Regions from separate parts of the Homo sapiens genome. Here region 1 is linked to region 2. The links are contacts of gene promoters, found by promoter capture Hi-C in blood cells and fetal thymus (Javierre and others, 2016). All regions are on one chromosome and are shown on one strand. The core of a region is centred on a gene start or on the middle of the fragment in contact, and the rest is flanking DNA. Distances in the headings are between cores, read along the strand shown.

What was found. The method cuts DNA at HindIII sites, captures the fragments that hold promoters and counts their contacts. A CHiCAGO score of 5 or more calls a contact.
Region 1: a contact is called between a fragment that was not itself captured here and the fragment with the promoter of RPAP3 in region 2, in 1 of 17 cell types (monocytes). The highest score is 7.0, in monocytes.

What each region holds. Positions count from the first base shown.
Region 1 is chr12:47,812,560-47,817,866 of GRCh38, reverse strand. The region is part of intron 1 of HDAC7 (histone deacetylase 7); the gene reads left to right. Among named protein-coding and RNA genes, the nearest start is that of HDAC7, 4.7 kb to the left of the region's middle. RefSeq lists enhancers at 1-413, 660-769, 3,936-4,015, 4,026-4,075 and a silencer at 4,656-4,845. The HindIII fragment of the contact is 3,821 bases long and covers 476-4,296 here.
Region 2 is chr12:47,704,181-47,710,194 of GRCh38, reverse strand. RPAP3 (RNA polymerase II associated protein 3) reads left to right here and starts at 4,165. Exons shown (of 17, transcript NM_024604.3): 1 at 4,165-4,243. RPAP3-DT (RPAP3 divergent transcript) reads right to left here and starts at 4,107. Exons shown (of 4, transcript NR_183480.1): 1 at 4,032-4,107. It overlaps ENDOU (endonuclease, poly(U) specific), which reads left to right. Exons shown (of 10, transcript NM_001172439.2): 10 at 1-461. RefSeq lists enhancers at 3,854-4,003, 3,935-4,229, 3,950-4,449, 4,450-4,951 and silencers at 4,144-4,223, 4,294-4,583, 4,614-4,703. The HindIII fragment of the contact is 881 bases long and covers 3,984-4,864 here.

The sequences.
Region 1 (5,307 bases), core at 1,137-3,636, 110 kb before region 2:
GTGTGATGGGGTAGGGAGTGGGGACCCTCTGGTAGCTGTGGGCAAGCATGCCCAAGGACTTGGAAGACAGAAGCCTGTGGAACCCCATCTCCTCTTTGCCTTCTTTCTCCTGGCCTTTCATTAAGGGCTGGTAATTTTGAAGTCGGCAGGGGCCTGAGAGAAGGTGAGCTAATGCAAGGCCCAGGGTCACACAGCCAGGGAATGGCAGGCGGAGGGGGCCAGAACCAGGCCTTCTCACTCTGCCAGTGCCCATTCTGCTGGCCCACCCTCCACAGCTTGGCTCTCCCTGGCCTGCCCTCAGTTAGACTTCGGACTGAGGCCTCCAGTGGGGTGTGGGGTATTGCTGGAAGCAGGGCCTGAATAAAGTCTGGGGCTAGCGGGAGGGCATCTGTCCTCCCGGAGGCTCCCAGGACTGTGCATTTGTGTGTGTTGGATTTGTTCACTAGATGGGGCACTTCCTTTGGGGCAGGAAGCTTTGATTTCCTGTGGTGATGGTGAGGAGGGGTTGGTAAGGATTAGGAGTGGGGGGCTCAGCTCTGGGCCATCCTCGATGTTGTTGTTTGGAACCACGGAGGGGCAGAGTTTCTGCTTAAGACTGCTTCTCCCAGCTCTGGGGAGGCAGGAAGGAGAGCCTTGGTGAGGAGGCCCAGGCCAAGGCTGGAGAAGGAGGCTGTGAGAGCAGTGAGCTGGGGGTGGGCAACACAGCAGGAAGCCCGGTCAGCAGGTGACCCTGCCGGGTATTGTGTTTCCTTGTAATATTTTCCCCCTGTTTCTGTGGTAACCTTCCCTGGAGGCCCCAGGCCTTAGGGCTACAGGAAGGTGCCCCCAGACAGCCCTTTCCTTAGAGGCCTGAGTATTAGGAGGAGTCCCCAGATCTAGCCACCTCCCTAACCCTTTTGGCTCCCTAGGATCAGGGGCCTGGGAATCTAGGCGAGTGGCCTGAGTGAGCATGGACTCGCGGGCTGGGGGAAGGCCCTTTGGCGTCTTCTGGGGGGAAGGGAGAGGGAAAGAGGGGAGCTGGACGCCCGGAAGGGCCCTGAGCAACTTGAGTCGCTGGCCTAGCCTCTTGTTTCCTCCCAACCCATCCCCACTGCCCTCCTCCAGTCTCCCTCCTCCTACAAGGGAGAGGTGGGTAGCATGCTGCCTGGGGCAAGGGGCAGGGGTGGGGGTGGCAGAGGTGGGAGGGATGTTTTCATCAGCAGAGCATAGCTCCTTTGGTCCTGGACCAGTTCCCAGAGGCAAAATAAATTCAGGACAGCGTCTGTTTAGTGTGGGTCTGCATGAGATGTGTGTGAGCACACACTGGGTGCGTGGTGGGTATCTGTGTGTGTACCCCTCCCCCCAGACCCTGTGTATGCTGATGTGGTGGTTCCGGGCAATTTGTGATCTATGTGGTGGTTCTGTGTTGGGTGTTTTGGGAATATGCACACATAAAAGACAGATGTGCATCATCTGTATGGTGCACACCTTTTCAGGTTATGGCCCTGTGTGGGGTAAACATGTCCATATGTATGGACATGTTTTTTGGGGGTATATATCTGGGCAGGAGTGGCTTTTTAATAGAAGTCCAGATGCTGGCTTGTAAAACACCATCTCATTTGGGATTCTCAAATGCGGGTTCCTGGACCATTTGCTTCAGAGTCACCTGGGGAATGTGTTAAAGATAAAGATCCTGGGCCGGGCGCGGTGACTTACGCCTGTAATCCCAGCACTTTGGGAGGCCGAGGCAGGTGGATCACCTGAGGTCAGGAGTTCAAGACCAGCCTGGCCAATGCGGCGAAACCCTGTCTCTACTAAAAATACAAAAAATTAGCCAGGTGTGGCGTGCGCGCCTGTAATCCCAGCTACTCGGGAGGCTGAGGCAGGAGAATTGCTTAAACCCGGGAGGCAGAGGTTGCGGTGAGCCAAGATCACGCCATTGCACTCCAGCCTGGGTGACAGCAAGACTCTGTAAAAAAAAAAAAAAAAAAAAATCCTGGCTGGACGCGGTGGCTTTGGGAGGCTGAAACAGGCAGATCACTTGAAGGCAGGAGTTCGAGACGAGCCTGGCTAACAGGGCAAAACCCCATCTCTACTAAAAATACAAATTTAGCCAGGCATGGTGGCGCAGGCCTGTAGTCCCAGCTATTTGGGAGGCTGAGGCAGAAGAATTGCTTGAGCCCAGGAGGTGGAGGTTGCAGTGAGCCGAGATTGCGCCACCTCACTCCAGCCTGGGCAATAGAGTGAGACTGTCTCAAAATTAAAAACATTCAGATCATCAGGCCCATTCCAGATTGACTAGTCAGAATCTGAGGGGTGGGGCCTGGGAATCCAGATTTTAACAGGTGCTTCAGGTGATCCTGGGGCAAGGCTGTGTTTGAGGACCACTGCCCTGGGTCAACCTCTTCATTTTTTCTTTTGAGGAAATAGACCCACAGAAGGTATGTAGTTTCTCTAAGGTGACAGGGCCATTAAGAGGAAGAACCAAGAGAAAACTCAAGGCTTCTAAGACCTGTCCAGGACTTTGTGCTCACCCATGTACCCCCTGTGTGTGTGTGTGCATGTGTGCTCATAACTACACTTTGTGATGACGTGGACCCGATTGGGCTGGTGCTAATTGGGGCTGATCTTTCCTCTGGGGTCCTGGCTTTCTTGTTTTCTGACCTTGTTCTTCTTGCTACATTCTGCTGCCTCCTTTTTGGAGAAATCCTGGAACTGTTGAGTGTCATCCCTAAAGGTCAATGTTGGCAACCAGGGAACCATGTTGCTGAGCCAGTCACTCAGCAATTCATCCATTCACTGGATCCTAGCTGAGCCTTGCAATGTTCTAGGCACTGGGTACAGATATGCAGTGAACACACAGGCACAACATCTGACCTCAGGGAACTTCCACTCTCGTGGAGAAGACAAACAGAACAAGTAGGCAAGTAAAGGAATGAGTATGTGTGACTAGTTACACACTGTGATAAGCCCTAAGAAGGAAATGAACTGGGCATGGCAATAAAGAATAACAAGGTGGGACTTCCTTTGATAGGGTGGCCAGGGGAGGACTGCCTAAGAAGGTGACATTGATGCCGTCTCCCACCTCCCCAGGTTGGAAGTGAGCCATCAGAGCCTCTGGAGCCGTGCTTGTGAACTCCCTGGATGCAGGTGGAGGCCCTGGGCTGACCAATGGCTAAGGGTTGGAGCTGAATTGCCAGCCTCTCACTTGGCATGGAAGATGGCAGTCTCCTCCCCTTAAGCAGCCCCAAAGGTTGGCAGAGGGGAGAGCAGAAGGGGGAGCTGCACAAGGCCAAGATCAAAGCCACTCCCTTGCTTGGGGAGCACCCTTTTTCTTCCATGGGGCTGAGTCCAGGGCCCTGTGGCCATACTGAATGTTGAGAAGGAGGCAGCATCTCCCCAGGAGCTCTCCTGTTTCACCTTCCTCCCACCTCCTTCCCTTCTCCGCCATCTCCCCAGTTGGGGAACTACTGTGCCAAGTCCCTTCCCTCTGGTCTAGCCTGCTGCCTCTGTGGCCACTTTACTTTACTTGGCTCAGGAATCACCAAAGAGAGGGGGTCAAGGCCTAGAGGGGACCTGGGCCCTGGAAGAGAGGACAGAACCAGAAAGGAAGGCTGGGGTTGGGACCAGAGAGGACAGGGCTCAAGGGAGGATGGAGGCTGGGACAGGAGAGGCACACGGGAAAAACCTGAGCCCAGATGGCCCTTTGGCTGGGCTCTCCAGAGTCTCTCCTGGGCCCTTGGAATCTGCTGCCCAAACTGGGGGAGACTCTGAGACCAGAGGGCCAGATGGGGCTGATTCAAGACACGGGCTCTACATCAGCTGGGAGGAAATGCCCCTGTCTGGTCCACCTGCAGCTCTACGCTTCACCCCTCTCAGGAGGTTAACTTTCACATCAGCAACTTGGGTGTCAGGTTCCGGCTCTAGGCCAGCAGGCCTCAGCCCCTCTCACCTCCAACCTCTTCTCCCAGGAAGGTTTTTCTGGGGACCCAGAGCTTCAGGCTGCAGGAAGGTGTTGCCTGGCCCTTGCCTTAGATTATTGAGTGTCAAAGGAGCCCTGACTCCAGGTCCGCTTTTCCCCCTGCACACTGCCAAGGCTGCCTTCCACCCTGGGCCTCTCTGGAGGCTGCTCAGTGCTCTTCCCGACTCCCAGGCCTTCCCGCCCAAGCTCCACAGCCCCCACAGCAGGATGGGGAGGGGACTTCTCCTCGTCAGGAAGGCCCTGGGCTAAGCTCACCATCCCCACCCTGTCTCCGCACCACTTCCTTTTTCCTCCATCTTGCCTGCAGGGATTGTAAACCCTGGTGGTCAGAAGCTTTGGGCCTATAGGGTCAGCCTCTCACCCTGGGGATCCGTAGGGGAACTCCAATCCCCTTCAGTTCAGCTTCCTCCCTGCAGGACCCATTCCAAGGAGCCTAGCTCTGGCTCCTGAGGTGACCCCAGCCCAGAAGTCCCATTCCCCTCTACCCCAACCCCCAGAATGGCAGGAGGAGCAGGGCAGTCTGGGAGTGACAGGTTCGGAAAGAGTCTGGGGTGGGGGAATTCGGCGATTGGGCTGTAACCGTCTTGTTTTGCTTGCCCCACAAACCTGCACGTCCGGGACGTCCGCTGCGCCCTCCCAGGCGCGTTCAGGTTATAGAACTGCTCTCAGAATGACAGGCTGGTGGCACCCGGCTGGGGCGGGGGGTGGGGAGGTGAAGGGGGGAGCCCCAGGCAAGGGGGAGCTGGAGGGTTAAAAATAGCAGCAGCCTTGTTTCGGTTAGCAAATGTGGAGGCGGGGAGCTGGAGGCGGGGCGGGCGGCGGACGATGTTTGCCCGCAGCGCAGGGCTGTGCTTCCCCTGGGTCCCGGGAGTGAGTCACGGCGGAGACGCTGAGGAGGTGCTGGCGCAGCACCCCACCCCCACCGGGCGAGGGGCTGAGCGCAGGCCTCGCCCCCCAGATTCCAGCGCTGAAGGAGGTGTGACTCTCCCTTCCAGGCAGCCGGGGCCGCCTTGAGAGTGAGCCAGGGGCATCGTGTGATAATAGGGAAGAAATGTGCCATTCTGACGCCAGAGATCTGGGTTTGAATCTTAGTCGAAAGGTGTGGGATCTTGAGTAAGGATGCTGATGGCTCTGAGACTCGATTTCCTAGTTTCAAGTGGGGCTTTTCTCTGTGCCCCACTTAGTGCTTAAAGCACTCTACAGATGTTAATTATCGCCTTAGACCCTACTGTATATATGGCAAAGCCTGGCAGGAGAGCTTCCTGTAAGGACGCAGAGGGAGGAATGGGATGGCCTTGGCTGAGTCTCGGTTTCTCCTGCAAGTGTGATTATGGGCACATTTTGCT
Region 2 (6,014 bases), core at 2,916-5,415:
TCTGGGAGAACTCCAATGCTGAATGGAGAAGGGTAATAGGTTGGTGCAGTGAATGGGCTGGGGGTGGGGTGGCCTTCTCCAGGCCTGAGTGTTTTTGTGTCCAGCTCAGTATCTGCAACAAGAAGTTTCCCACTTGTGGATGTTTAGTGCAGCCACAGACTTGTATTTTGATCCCCAATTTTTTTTTGAAAGAGTTCTCCTCATAGGAGGATGATTCAGCATCAGAAGAAGAAGGAACCCATAGCTTGGTGTCATTAACATAATTATTTTAAGCCTTATCCAGCAGCCATAATTTGAATAACTCTACGAGACCAGAGAGACTGTAGTTCCCTATTTTAACCTCAATTATGCATTTGTCCCCCAACCCCACTGAGAACTAAATGCTGTACCACAGAGCCGGGTGTGAACTATGGTTTAGAAGGTTCAAGTTTCCAATTAAAGTCATTGAAGAAAACTTGAAATGAGTGTCTTCTTTGTATATGGCCTCCCTCCAATGTCTGTCTCCCTGCCTTTTCCCTAGAGCAGGGCTGGCAGTGATACTTTTGCTCTAGAGTCTTTTCAGAATGGCTTGAAGAATGTGGTATCTGGGTGAAGTCTCTGTTGACTCACTAAGTCTCTCTAGCCAAGAGGGGAAGAGAATTCTGTAATATGAAGAGTGGAAGGATCATTGCATACAGATAGTGAGGCGGCCGGTGGGGGGGTGGTAAATGGAGATTGGTGGTCCCCATCCCCAATAACCAGTCCCCTTTATCAAATACACAGGAGTATAAGGACATTTCTGGATGTAGCTTCTGTGGTTGCAGAGGTTGACCACACTGGGGGAAGAGGAGATGCTAAAGAGATACAGAAAAAGACTTCTTATCTGTAAACAGATTACTCAAGCCACAATGCTAGAAAACGGTCAGGTATGAAGAGATACCTCGGGCAAGTTTATAGCCTGCAGATAGATGAAACAGGGCCTTGTCCTGCCCTTTCCCAGAGATGTTCACAGTCAATAGGCAAGACAGTGAGTCAGTAGAGCACAGGGGTAACAGGTACAGGCTCTGAAGTCATGTTGCCCAGGTACCTAGCCAGGCTCTGTTGCTTACTGGCCATATGAGCAAATTTCTTAATTATTCAGATTGTTTCCTCACCAGTCAAATGGGGATAATATTACCATTGTTGTGAGATAAGGAATGTGAAATAACATGCTAGTCTTTCTTATAGTAATTATTGTCTCACTTATTATACAGATTTAATTTTATACTGGGAGAGGCAATTTACTATCCCTGCTATCAGCCTTAACCTTCACCTACTGGTGCCCAGTACTTGTGCTCTTCATAGGCCTCTTCAGAGGTCTTCCAGGTAGTCCAGTAGGAGACAGAAAGACAGAAATGCAGGAGAGAGTACTGTATTCCAGGGTCTGGGCCTTAGCTTTGCAGGAGAGAAAGGTAAGAACTAACATTTGTTAAGCTGTTACCATGTCCCAAGCTGTGCTAAGTAGTCCTTTTATATTCATTTTCTCACTCTGGTGGGTATTTTTATCTTCACCACTTTAATTTTACCTAGACAACTGAGGATCAGATTAAGCCACATTCTTAGTCAGTAGCAGAATCAGGATTGCAAAATTCAACCCTTTTCCTCATGTTGTAGTGAGCCTGGATTTCTAGTAGTATCTACTCACTTATTCATTCATTATTTTTTAAAGAATATTTATTAAGACCCCTGACAGAGGCTGCTGGTTACCCCTCAGTATCTGCTCTCCTCTTCTTCCTTATTCACTGAAGTCTCAGTTTTTAGGTACACAAATGACTGTCAAGAGTACAGACTCTTGACCTCCCTTGCAACCAGAAGTAGGCGTGTGTCTATGTCCTCACCAATGGCATGCAAAAGGAAGTATTCTTAATGGGCAGGGGGTACCGTTATTCCCACTCTTGCCCTTTTCTGCCGACTGGATTTCAGACAAGATCGTGGGAGCTTGAGCAGCCAGCTTGAACCATGAATGAAAGCCATATGCTGAAGATCACAGAGCAGCCAGGAAGGAGCCTGGGTCTCACACCGAAACTGTCACACTAATCCTGGATTGCTTATATTCAGTTTTACATGAAAGAAAAATAATCTTTCATGTTTAAGCCACTCTTATTTTGGGCTTTCTGTCACATGCAACCAAACTTAACATAGTATCTCCATAACAGGAAGTCCCAAGGTTCATTTTCTTCCTAAAGTTACTTAGCTAATACTTCCTTTCTTAAGATTTACATTAACTGTCAGACTCTTTAACTATTTGAAAGAGCCCAATAATTGTTTTGGATATTAAAATTAATAGCATTTACAATCATTAATTGCAGCATTTTATTGTTGCAATAATAAACACTCCTGTTTATTTCCACTGACCATTACAACTGCAACACATAAAACACATAAAGAGGTTTGTCTCTTTGAAAATAACTCTTCAGGTATTAATGATAAGTTCAATTGAGATGACTGGAGTAAATGAATAAAAGAGACTTAAAAGAAAGGCATTATTTACACATTTTGTTGAAATCCATTTAAAGATAACTGCCAATAGAAGTGGGGAGGTCTGCAAGGAATCTAGGAAAGAACTTAAGGTGGCCTAGGTCTGAGCTCACAGGAGAGAAGGCTGCCATTGCAGGCACAGGTTTTGTGGGACAGCAGGAGCCTCAGAATTAGGTGATGATGACCATCAAAACCATTTGATTAACTTTTCTCACTTTGACTCTATATTCACTAAGCTACTTCTGATTATTGTATGGTTTGAGAGAGAAAAAGAGAGAGAAAAGCAGGGTCACCTAAGGGTCTATGAGGTTTTACTAGAGCAGCCAGCTAGCCCCCTTATCTCTCTTCTCAATCAACTCTGTCAGAATTAATAAAACAAATGTGGTTGCTTTTGTTAAAAACACCAGTAAATCAATATTTGCTTTTAAATACTTAATAAAAAAATTATTAAAAGTCAGTTCTCTATCTCCCTAATACAACCAAAGAATCATTTCATTAGTAAATATTTTGACGTACACTTAATGATTTGACTACTATGATTTTAAAATATAAAGATACCAATAATTAAGCAATGGGAAGGATGTGCTAATGATATGACCTTGTAAGACAGCACTCCAGCCTAGTTCTTCATTGATCAGCGCCTGGGTTAGTGGCTTCCAGCTTCAAATGCACAGCCGTATCCTATGCTTTAAAAAATTCTGATTGGCTTCACTCAAGACTAGTTACATCAGAATCTCTGGGATAGGACACAGAAATCAGTATACACACACACACACACACACACACACACACACACACACACACAGACACAAACACACACACACACACACGTGTATATGTATATACTCCCTAAGTGATTCCAAAGCTCAGTCAAGACTGAGAACCACCGATCTGGATTTTGAGGATATTTGAGGTTACAGTCCTGTTTTAAATGGAAAGTTTCATTTGTTTGTGTTTGCTTCTGTGGACTTCTGCAATTATTTTTGTTTTGCTTTCGTTTAAGAGTTGTCATTGCAACGAAGACTCCCTCACACGGGAAGCAGAAGCAAAAAGTGTTAAAAGTTTCGTTCTTTTTTCTCTGTAAGCCAGAGCATATCTAAAGACAGATTGTAACACTGGCACATGTCAAAGAAAGACTCAGAGATAGATTCACTTAGAAAAGGGGTTTACTTGCAAAAGATGCGAGGAGTTAGACGGAAGGACTAGTTTGCCAACCAGTACTTAAAGGGAAAAAAAAATCCCCTAAAATTACCAGGATTACCGGTTGACAGTAGTCTGTTCATGGTGGAAAAACAGTAACTTTCTCACATGGTTATTATACTCACAAAGGTCAGACAAATTAATGTCACAAAGGTCAGAGATTAGCAAGGTAAATATTAGGGATTAAACTGTTTAAGGGAGTCCAGGGAAATATTCAAGGTTTTATTGTTTTGGAGATCAGAAAATCAGGATGATCCTGCAGTTTTTGGGTTATCTCCTTTTAAGCTTAGTCATATTGGAAGCAGGCAGAAGGCTCAGATATTGCTTTTACATACCCTCAAGCCACCAAGCTGGTTCCATCCTGAGAAGGAAGTCACGAAGCTGACTTCTGCGCGCGCTCAAGCCCAGGCTAAAGGGGGCGGGGCGAGGCCGCGGGGGCTTGTGGGGAAGCGCAGGAGGCGGGGCTTTGCGTGAGTCACTGCCGGGCTCGGCGTGAGTCGCTGCGGGGCTGACGGGGTGGCAGTGCGGCGGGTTACGGCCTGGTCAGGTGAGCGGGCGTTGCGGTTCTCGCTGCCCGGAGCAGCGTAGGAGATCCTTGGGGTGGCCGGTGGGAGGAGGGGTAGCGGTTATGGGTACCGGTGAGGCGGGGCGGGCCGGGGCTGGCGGTGGAGGCGCGCGTTGAGGCGGCGCGTCGGTGTCCAGGGCAGCGGCGTCTCGGGTCGCGCGTTCCCGGAGGGGCTCGCCCCCGCAACCCGGGCCTGCGCGCTCTGCTTTGCAGGCGGACCCTCCACCCTGCTGCGATTTTGCAGTGCTCGGGAAGGCAGAGCCGCCCTCCCGCAAAGACCGAGGTGGGGCCCGCCCCCTTGCGGCGTGGGTGTGCGGTGTTCGCCGGGACAGCGGGTGTGAAAGTGATACCCCCAGCGCTGGAAGTTTTTGATTGCTGGCTCGCACCCCCGCCCCATCGCAGGGTCCCTGGGAGAGTTTTTGGGCCTGCTCGAGCAGCAGCGGTGATGGGTGAAATGGAAAAGCATCTAACCCCCGTCAGCATCTCACTGACTTGTTGCGCTTTTATTCATTTATTTGAGTTCCCAACAAAGCGTTGTACTAGTTTTGTTTTTGAATGAGTTGTGCATATATGGTCAAACATGGACACTGCCTGAAAGAAGCTTAAACCTAATTTAGTTGTTGAGGCTACGAGTCAGAAGACCTATCTGCATCTGCAACTGTCCCTTCTTAGTGAGGTATTTTTCACTGTCCTAAACAAATGTTTTTCTAATTCCGTCTCTCTCCCTCCCACCTTACTTCTCTTCCCTCCGCCTAAAGCTTTGACTCTTCTCCTACCTTTTTGGAGATTTTGCCCCATCACTCATCCTTTTTCCTGTATCTTTTACTTTGTTGCTTTTTCCCCAGACTATGCTCAAGAACAAGTCTTATATTATCAAAGGCAAATGTACTGTAATCTCCATATAATCTCATTTACGTAACTCATTTCATTCCCCCCCCTCCTTTTTTTTTGGTCCCAGGCTGGAGTGTAGTGGGCCCGTCACCGCCCACTGTGGCCTCGATCTCCCGATCCTCCCACCTCAGCCTCCTGAGTAGCTGGAACTATAGGCACCCTCCACCACGCCTGGCTAATTTTTGTGTTTTTAGTAGAGATGGGGATCTCGAAGTGTTGCCCAGGCTGATCTAGGAACTCCTGAGCCCAAGCTATTCCCCCTGCCCCCCAACCTCTGCCTCCCAAAGTGCCGGGATTACAGGCATGAGCCACCTGCGGTTGGCCTTCCACCCTTTAAAAAAAATCTTATTGAAACTCTAAATAGAGGTCAGGCGCGGTGGCTCATGCCTATAATCCCAGCACTTTGGGAGGCCGAGGTGGGCGGATCACTTGAGGTCAGGAGTTCGAGACCAGCCTGGCCAACGTGGTGAAACCCCGTCTCTACTAAAAAAAAAAAAAATACAAAAATTAGCCGGGCGTGGTGGCCTGCACCTGTAATCCCAGCTGCTCGGGAGGCTGAGGCAGGAGAATCACTTGAACCTAGGAGGTGGAGGTTGCAGTGAGCTGAGTTTGCGCCACTGCACTCCAGCCTGGGCGACAGAGCAAGACTCTGTCTCAAGAAAAAAAACAAAAACTCTGAATAGTCTTTTTATGACTAAATATAATGCACTTTCTTTCCCTCTGTGGCATTTGGCACTGCTAACCTCTCACTTTCTTCAACTCATTTTTTGTCATCTGTAACAGTACACTCTAGGTTTTTCTCCCAACTGTCTAGGTGCTACTGCCTACTTTTTTCTTCCTTGGCATCTCTTTCTCCGTTTAG